Linked DNA regions of Homo sapiens: region 1 is linked to region 2. The links are contacts of gene promoters, found by promoter capture Hi-C in blood cells and fetal thymus (Javierre and others, 2016). All regions are on one chromosome and are shown on one strand. The core of a region is centred on a gene start or on the middle of the fragment in contact, and the rest is flanking DNA. Distances in the headings are between cores, read along the strand shown.

Region 1 (4,218 bases), core at 1,194-3,693, 100 kb before region 2:
GCTTAGGGGGAGCTGGTGCAAGTAATGAGCCTGGCTGAGGCTGTGTCAGCATTTGTACACTGACTTAAGGTATACATGAACATTAAAAAGTAGAGTTATCTATTATAATATAGACGAAATGAGTTAAAGAAAAATGAAATTAAAAGCATAGAAGTTATATAGATGTGGCAAAATCTTGAAGGTGGTATGCACATCACTAAAGTTTGTGAAATGCTGATGTAAAGATGTAATCATTGGCTGGGTGTGGTGGCTCACACCTGTAATCCCAGCAGTTTGGGAGGCCAAGGCAGGTGGATTACCTGAGGCCAGGAGTTTGAGACCAGCCTGGCCAATATGGTGAAACCCCATCTCTACTAAAAATACAAAAATTAGCCAGGCGTGGTGGTGGGCACCTGTAATCGCAGCTACTCAGGAGGCTGAGGCAGGAGAATCGCTTCAACTCAGGAAGTGGAGGTTGCAGTGAGCCAAGATCATGCCATTGCACTCTAGCCCGGGTAATAAGAGTGAAACTCCATTTCAAAAAAAAAAAAGAGAGATAAAATCATCAAATAAATCTGACTAGAACTTGGAGTCAAGAGACCCGAATTTAATTCATGACCATGAAACATCCATTTTAAAGCACTGATTTTTGACCAAGGGCAAGTGGCTCGTGCCTGTAATCCCAACACTTTGGGAGGCTGAGGCAGCAGGATCACTTGAACTCAGGAGTTCAAGACCAACCTGGGCAACATAGGGAGACCCTATCTCTAAAAAAAAAAAAAAAAAAAAAAAAAAATTAGCCAGGCCTGGTGGCCCACCCTATAGTCTCCTCTACTTAGGAGGCTCAAGCAGGGGCCCACTTGAGCCCAGGAGGTTGGAGCTGTAGTGAGCTGTGATTGCACCACAGCACTCCAGCCTGGGCGACAGAGCAAGACCCTATCACATACACAATGTTAAAATAAAATAAAAAGACCAATTTTCGGTGTGGTAAAATGGGAAAATAATCACCAGTTCTTCTTATCTCTTAGTCTTGTCATGAGGTTCATTTTAGTCTCATTTGTTTATTTGCTCAACAAGCATTTATCAAATTTGGGCTGCCTGTTTGTAAGAAAGAGCTTTATAGTTAAAATAATTACTGGAAGGAGATATAGGTTTTTGAAATTTTTTCACAATGACCTGATATGTAAGTTTAAACTCTTGAGGGTGACCCTCATTTCCAAAGATCGCCAGAATAGATTTGAATTAAAATGAGATGTTTCCTTTCTCCAGCAAATATGAAATGAGTGTTAGTAGATAAGGGCATTAACATTAGAAATAGAAGGTGTCATTTTTCATTTAGTAACTTGAACACATAGAAAATCCACCTTTAACACATTATTATTGTTTATAAAGTGTTGGCAATACACATGGTACCTTGCAAAGTAGAAGTAGAAATGACAAGATCCTTTCCCCAAGGAGCTCAGATCATAACATTGTTGAACAAATCTACACAGCACAGCAGTATTGTGCATAATTGAGCTGATATGGTGGGAGAGGTCAGACTAGGGCTGTGGGCTGAAGATGTATAAAATGAGCCATTTGAAGCCAGGGGTTTGGGTGCTGGAAAGGCAGGAGGAAGGGTGTGCTTCAGACTGCTCCATGGTATCAAATAAAAAGTGTAGACAAAACAGGAACATAGAAATGTGAGTCAAGTGTGCCCACTTTTTGAGAAGTTGCTCAAAAAGAGTGCATTAGACTTGATTTCTTTTCTCCCTTGTCATTTTAAGCAGCAGCCTGTCTTAGTCTTTTTATGCTGCTATAACAAAGTGTCTGAGACTGGGTAATTTATAAAAAACAAAAATTTATTTCATATGATTTTGGAGGCTGGGAAGTCCAAGATCAAGGTGCTTACACATTTGATGTCTGGCTGAGGACCTTCTTGCTGCGTCCTCACATGGTGCAAAGGGGAAAAGGGCAAAAGAGGGATGAATGCTATGTCCTCACATGGCAGAAGAGACTGAAGGGGGAAAAAGGGTCTAGCTGGTTCCCTCCAGCTCTTTTACAAGGTCACTAATCCTATGTATGAGGGCTTTGCCCTCATGACTGAATTGCTTCCTAAAGGCCCCAGCTTTTTTTTTTTTTTTTTTTTTTTTGAGACAGAGTCTTGCTCTGTTGCCCAGGCTGGAGTGCAATGGCACGATCTTGGCTCACTGCAGCCTCCACCTCCCGGGTTCAAGCGATTCTCTTGCCTCAGCCTCTGGAGTAGCTGGGATTACAGGTGCCTGCCACCATGCCTAGCTAATTTTTGTGTTTTTAGTAGAGACGGGGTTTCACCATGTTTGCCAGGCTGGTCTCGAACTCCTGACCTCAGGTGATCCCCCTGCCTCGGCCTCCCAAAGTGCTGGGATTACAGGCGTGAGCCACCGTGCCCAGCCAGCCCCAGCTTTCTAAACTATCACACTGAGGTTGAAGTTCCAAAATGAATTTTGGAGGGACACATACATTAAAACATAGCAAAGCCCTTGGAAACTTCTTTGCCTGAGCTGCACCAATGAACATAGTTTTCTTCATGTCTGGTTTATAGATGAAGGATGAGAGTGGGCAGCAGGATATGCTGCCAGGGATGTTCGATAGCAGGGTTCACAGTAAGGGGGAAAGTCACAGTCTATATAGGTTTTGGCAATAGGACAACAAGTGCGGTGAAAAAGGGAAAGTTGTCTGAATCTCCATGATGTTTCTTTTTTTTTTTTTTTTTTTTTTTGAGATGGAGTCTCGCTCTGTCACCCAGGCTGGAGTGCAGTGGCGCGATCTCGGCTCACTGCAAGCTCCGCCTCCCAGGTTCGTGCCATTCTCCTGCCTCAGCCTCCCCAGTAGCTGGGACTACAGACGCCCGCCACCACGCCCGGCTAATTTTTTGTATTTTTAGTAGAGACGGGGTTTCACTGTGTTAGCCAGGATGGTCTCCATCTCCTGACCTCGTGATTCGCCCGCCTCAGCCTCCCAAAGTGCTGGGATTATAGGCGTGAGCCACCGCGTCCGGCCTTAAATCCCCATGATGTTTTATGCTTGGCATTGATCATGCAGCCCTGCATGCTAATGGAGCTGTCAGAGTAAGTCCTTTGCCCTTTGCCTAACGTTATCTCCACCACTGTGTGTTTACCCTCTTGTAGCCAGAGTTGGTATTAAATCATCATGACGTCCTTTCCAATACACTTCTGAGTCCTCTAATTTTCTCGTAGTTTGAGTTGTAATAATAACAACTAATATTTGTTGCACACTTAGTCTCTGCCAGGCAGTGTTCAAAGCACTTTACATATAATACCTCTCTTATTCCTTATGAAAAGAATTAGTAGAAAACTCCACTTTGTAGGTGAAGAAATGGAAGCTCAAAAAGATTAAGGGATTTGCTCATGGTCACTCAGCTATTAAGTGGTAGAGTGGGATTTGAGCTCAACTTTTCTTGTCTCTGTCCTTCTTTTTGACCACCTAACTACTACTGGCTCCCAGGAGGCCTCATTGAAGCTGGAAAGAGGTGGGGATTGGGAAAAATGGAATTGCAGACTCAGAAGCACCTCATAACATCATCCCTTCTTATTGCCCACTCCCAGAAAGCATCCCCTGGATGTCATCTTTGACAATTGTCACTTTGCTTCTCCTCAGACACTACAGGTGATCCAGAATGTGGTGCCACATGAGGCAACCTAGTCCATTTTTAGACAGCAGTGATTGTCACCCAGTTTTCCCATATTTTGAACAGAAATAATTTATCTCCCTAACTTCACCTACTTGTCCTAGTTCTGTTTTCTGGAGCTCTACCAAATAAAACTATTTTTCTTCTGATGGATAAATTTAAGTATTTGTAGATGCCAGGGAATTTGGAACAGTTTCCTACTACACCCCAAGCTCCTTTCCCTATTTGCAGAAGAAATGCAGGGGTTCATTCTCCACTTGGGCCAGTGCTTTGCGTTCATTTCTGTGAGCAGCTTATTATGTGTGCCTATTAACCCAGAAGGACACAATTGTGCATAGGAAAGTAGCTTTGTTTTACGGTTCAATTGATTGGAACAATAAGTACACCTCTGTGTGGTCTTCATAGTTTATTATGATTATGATTATGGTTATGATTATTTTGAGATGGGGTTTCTCTCTTGTAGCCCAGGCTGGAGTACAATGGCACGATCTCAGCTCACTGCAACCTCTGCCTCCCAGGTTCAAGCGATTCTCCTGCCTCAGCCTCCTGAGTAGCTGGGATTACAGGCG
Region 2 (4,144 bases), core at 412-2,911:
CAACAAAAGCCAAAAATAAAAATGCCTGTGAGAGATTTCTTAGAGTCACTCATTATTAGTTCATGCTCCCAGTAGAGATATTTCTTCAATCAAGTCCCAGTTTCCTCCTCTTTTATTGCATTCTTTCGTGAAGAAAGCTTAAAGAAATGAATTCTTGTCCTTGGAAATGAGGGAGGACTATACTATGCTTTCTCTAGAAGGCACTACTGTGTGTTTGAGCATGTTTTTCAAATAATTAGTAGGTGTGAGTGGTTCTGCCAATAGACATACTACATTTATTTTCAGTGATCACTTGAAAAACACACCTATAAGCTTATAATTGCTGACATTAACAAACAACAGGTATGAAGATGCTGTTCACAAAAAGTGCATGTAGTTCCATGTGTTTTATTTAGTCTGTTTGAAATGAAGTTTAGCATATCTATAGCACACAGCATGAAACATGTCAGTCATTTTGAATTTAACATTGTGCATAATGTATTCATAAGAATTATATTTATTTATTAGCATTTATCTTCAAATCAAAGGTTAAAAGTTTCAAGATGCACAAAAATGGTTAACTTTCTGTGAGAAGTCTGAGAAATCACTGAAGACATGAAAATGACAGGCTGGAGGAAGAAGTAAAGAACCTAGAAGGCCAAAATGGAATTCTAAGATAACATGAATATAGAACATAGAAAAGAGAAAGGATTGATTGAAAAAAGGAAAGGGGAAAAAAAAGGAATTATTAAATGGAAACATTAGATTCAAGTAAACCCAAAACAATCATCAAAGTAGATGTTAACAGCATTTTGAGTACATGTTGTGAGTATGAGAAGTGCAATTCTAAATGTTAGGCCCTTATGTTTTAACATATCAGCAAATACAATATTTTGTTTCTAATTTAACAAATTTTTAAGACTTATGTTAGTTGTGACATATTTCCAATAAATAATTATGTTTCCCAAGGACACTGGGTACAATAAAGTGGGTCTGACAATTAACTTACCTTTGAAACCTGAGCCCTTCATTAGTTACAGGAATAGACTGGAACATGATTTTTCCTCTCCTGCTTGGAGAACCCACAAGTTGTGTTTTCTTTATGAATATTGGAAATTCTTTCTTTTAGCCAAATGAAGGGTGTGCATTTCTTCGGCCAGGAGTTACCAGGCTGATAATCCTGATGCAGCGGTTCTCAAAGTCTCCTCAGAAGGCCCGCAGTAGCACCAGCAGCACCAAAGGACTTGTTGGAAACACCAGTTTTCTAGGCCGGGCACAGTGGCTCATGCCTGTAATCCCAGCACTTTCGGAGGCCGAACTCCTGAGGTCAGGAGTTTTGAGACCAGCCTGGCCAACATGGCAAAACCCCGCCTCTACTAAAAATACAAAAATTAGCCGGGTGTAGTGGCGGGCACCTGAAATCACAGTTACTTGGGAGGCTGAGGCAGGAGAATCACTTGAACCTGGGAGGCAGAAGTTGCAGTGAGACAAGATCACACCATTGCACTCCAGCCTGGGCGACAAGAGCAAAACCTCTGATTAGAAAAAAAAAAACAAACAGGCGCCGTGGCTCACGCCTATAACCCCAGCACTTCAGGAGGTTGAGGTGGGCGGATCACCTGAGGTCAGGAGTTCAAGATCAGCCTGGCCAATAGAGTGAAACCCCGCCTCTACAAAAACATGATGGCGCGCGACTGTTTCCCATCTACTCAGAGGCTGAGGCGGGAGAATCGCTTGAACCCGGAAGGCGGAGGTTGCAGTGAGCTGAAATCACGCCATTGCGCTCCAGCCTGGGTGACAGAGCAAGACTCCGTCACAAAAAAAAAAAGAAAAAAGAAACACCAGTTTTCTGATTTCACCGAAGACCTACTGCCTCAGAAACTATGAGGGCAGAACCCAGCAATCTGTGCTTTCTTTCACAAGCCCTCCAGGAGTTGCTGAAATTTAGGAATCATTGCCCCAAAAAGTGGCCCTCATAATGATGCCAGGTAAGGAAAGACAACATTATTACCTATGTGTGGTGTGTTAACATTCTTTATGAAACATGTGTGAAGACCTAAATCGAAGACTTTCTCCATGAGATATTCCCTAATCACATTAGTGAAATAAAACTATATTTCCTCTACTTTTCTACTGCTACAGAAATCTCCCCCAGTTAGGATAGTCCCAGTTTCCTATTTATCTTTGTTTTTCTTGCAGTGCACAGCATGTCACCCAGTAATTGATAAGTTTTTTTTTTTTTGAGACGGAGTCTTGCTCTGTCTCCCAGGCTGGAGTGCAGTGGCGCGATCTCGGCTCCCCAAGTAGCTGGGACTACAGGCGCCCGCCATCACGCCCGGCTAATTTTTTGTATTTTTAGTAGAGACGGGGTTTCGCCGTGTTAGCCAGGATGGTCTCGATTTCCTGACCTCGTGATCCGCCCGCCTCAGCCTCCCAAAGTGCTGGGATTACAGGCGTGAGCCACCGCACCTGGCCTAATTGATATGTTTAAATGTTAAAATTAAATGCAATGATTTCCTAAAATAAACAAATGTGGGACAATTTATTGCACTCTGTTCAAATTCCCATTTTGAAGTGGAATTCAAACAAACATGACAGTAAAGGGGGACAGTGAGCACAGGGACAAGAGAAAAGGAGAAAGGGAAGAAATACAGAGAACTAGATAGGAGGAAGTGTCAAAGACTGATGGGTGTAAGCCACCTTTACCTCTGGATATTGGTTTTCCTTTGAATTGTGGTATGTGGTCATATTGCTTATTAGTTATAACATACAGCTGTCAGAAGAGTTTTTCAATTAAAATTTCAAATGTAATATTAAAACTGTTTGGATTCCTTCCTACTGGGCACTGGACACTGTCTGTGGAGCTGCTGGAACAGCGCTGAATAGGGTCATATTTTAAAGGAACTCAGCCTAGTGCAGTTTCTCAACCTTAGCACTATTGGCCTTTGGGGCCTGATAATCCTTTTTTGTGAGGGGCTGTCCTGTGCACTGTAGGATGTTTAGCAGCATCCTTGGCTTCTACTCAGTAGATGACAGTATCAACCCCCTTCCCCAGAAGTGACAATTAAAAATGTCTCCAGACTTTTCCAAATGTCCCCTGAGGAGCAAAATTGTCTCCAGTTGAAAACCACTGGGTTAGTGGGAGAAACAGATAAGACAGAAGTTCTCCATACACCATGATAATGCCATGATGCCATAGGGCTGGCAGGAGTGAAGGGAAGAGCATCTCACAAAGACTCGGGGGGATGCAGGGAGGAGGAAAAATTAGGAAATGAAGTGGGCTGAGTTGCAGTTAGCCTGTGGGGAAAATGAAGGAGAAGGGATAAGGAAGAAGAGGAGGAAGGAGGGAGGAAGAGTGAGGAGTAATAGGGAATTATAGTTGACCTTGAACAACTTGGGGTTTAGGGATGCCGACCCTTGCGTAGTCAAAAATCTGAGCTTAACTTTTGACTACCCTCACACTTTCCTAACAGCCTACTGTTGACCAGATGCTTTACCAATAACATAAACAGTTTATTAACACATATTTTGTATGTTTTATGTATTATACACTGTATTCTTACAATAAGGTAAGCTAGAGAAAAGAAAATGCTATTAAGAAAATTGTAAGGAAGAAAAAATATATTTACTGTTCATTAAGGGGAAGTAGATCATCATAAAGCTCTTCATCCTTGTCATCTTCAAGTTGAATAGGCTGAAGGAGGAGGGGGAGAGAGAAGAGACTGGCCTTGCTGTCTTAGGGGTGGCAGGGATGGTAGAGGTGCAGGAGGTGGAAGGGGAGGCAGGAAAGGCAGGCACACTCGGGGTAGCTTTCGTTGAAAGAAATCTTCATATGAGTGGACCCATGCAGTTCAAACCTGACTTGTTCAGAGTCAACTGTACTTGTTCCAGGCTAAGAACAGAGAATAAAAAAAAAATGTATAGAGGCCTGAAACAGCATATTATATTAAAAGAACTCAAAGCCGGTAAATGCTTTGCTACTGAAGCATAAAGTGAGAAAGGGGCATCATGGGCTCTGAAATTGCAGCCACAAGTCTACAGAACACATTTTTCATAGCCCAAGGTCAGTCTTCTATTACCCTTTGCAGTGAGGTTATCATCATCCATTTTCACTCGTCAGTGCTGGGGAGCCCATTAAATACTTGCCACTATACTTGGTCCCAAC

What was found. The method cuts DNA at HindIII sites, captures the fragments that hold promoters and counts their contacts. A CHiCAGO score of 5 or more calls a contact.
Region 1: a contact is called between a fragment that was not itself captured here and the fragment with the promoter of TMC1 in region 2, in 3 of 17 cell types (M0 macrophages, M1 macrophages and M2 macrophages). The highest score is 7.4, in M0 macrophages.

What each region holds. Positions count from the first base shown.
Region 1 is chr9:72,419,324-72,423,541 of GRCh38, forward strand. No RefSeq gene overlaps it. Among named protein-coding and RNA genes, the nearest start is that of ZFAND5, 56 kb to the left of the region's middle. The HindIII fragment of the contact is 5,180 bases long and covers 1-4,218 here.
Region 2 is chr9:72,519,947-72,524,090 of GRCh38, forward strand. It overlaps TMC1 (transmembrane channel like 1), which reads left to right and starts at 1,662. Exons shown (of 24, transcript NM_138691.3): 1 at 1,662-1,967. LOC101927234 (a long non-coding RNA gene) reads right to left here. Exons shown (of 3, transcript XR_001746721.3): 3 at 3,472-3,871. The HindIII fragment of the contact is 6,235 bases long and covers 311-4,144 here.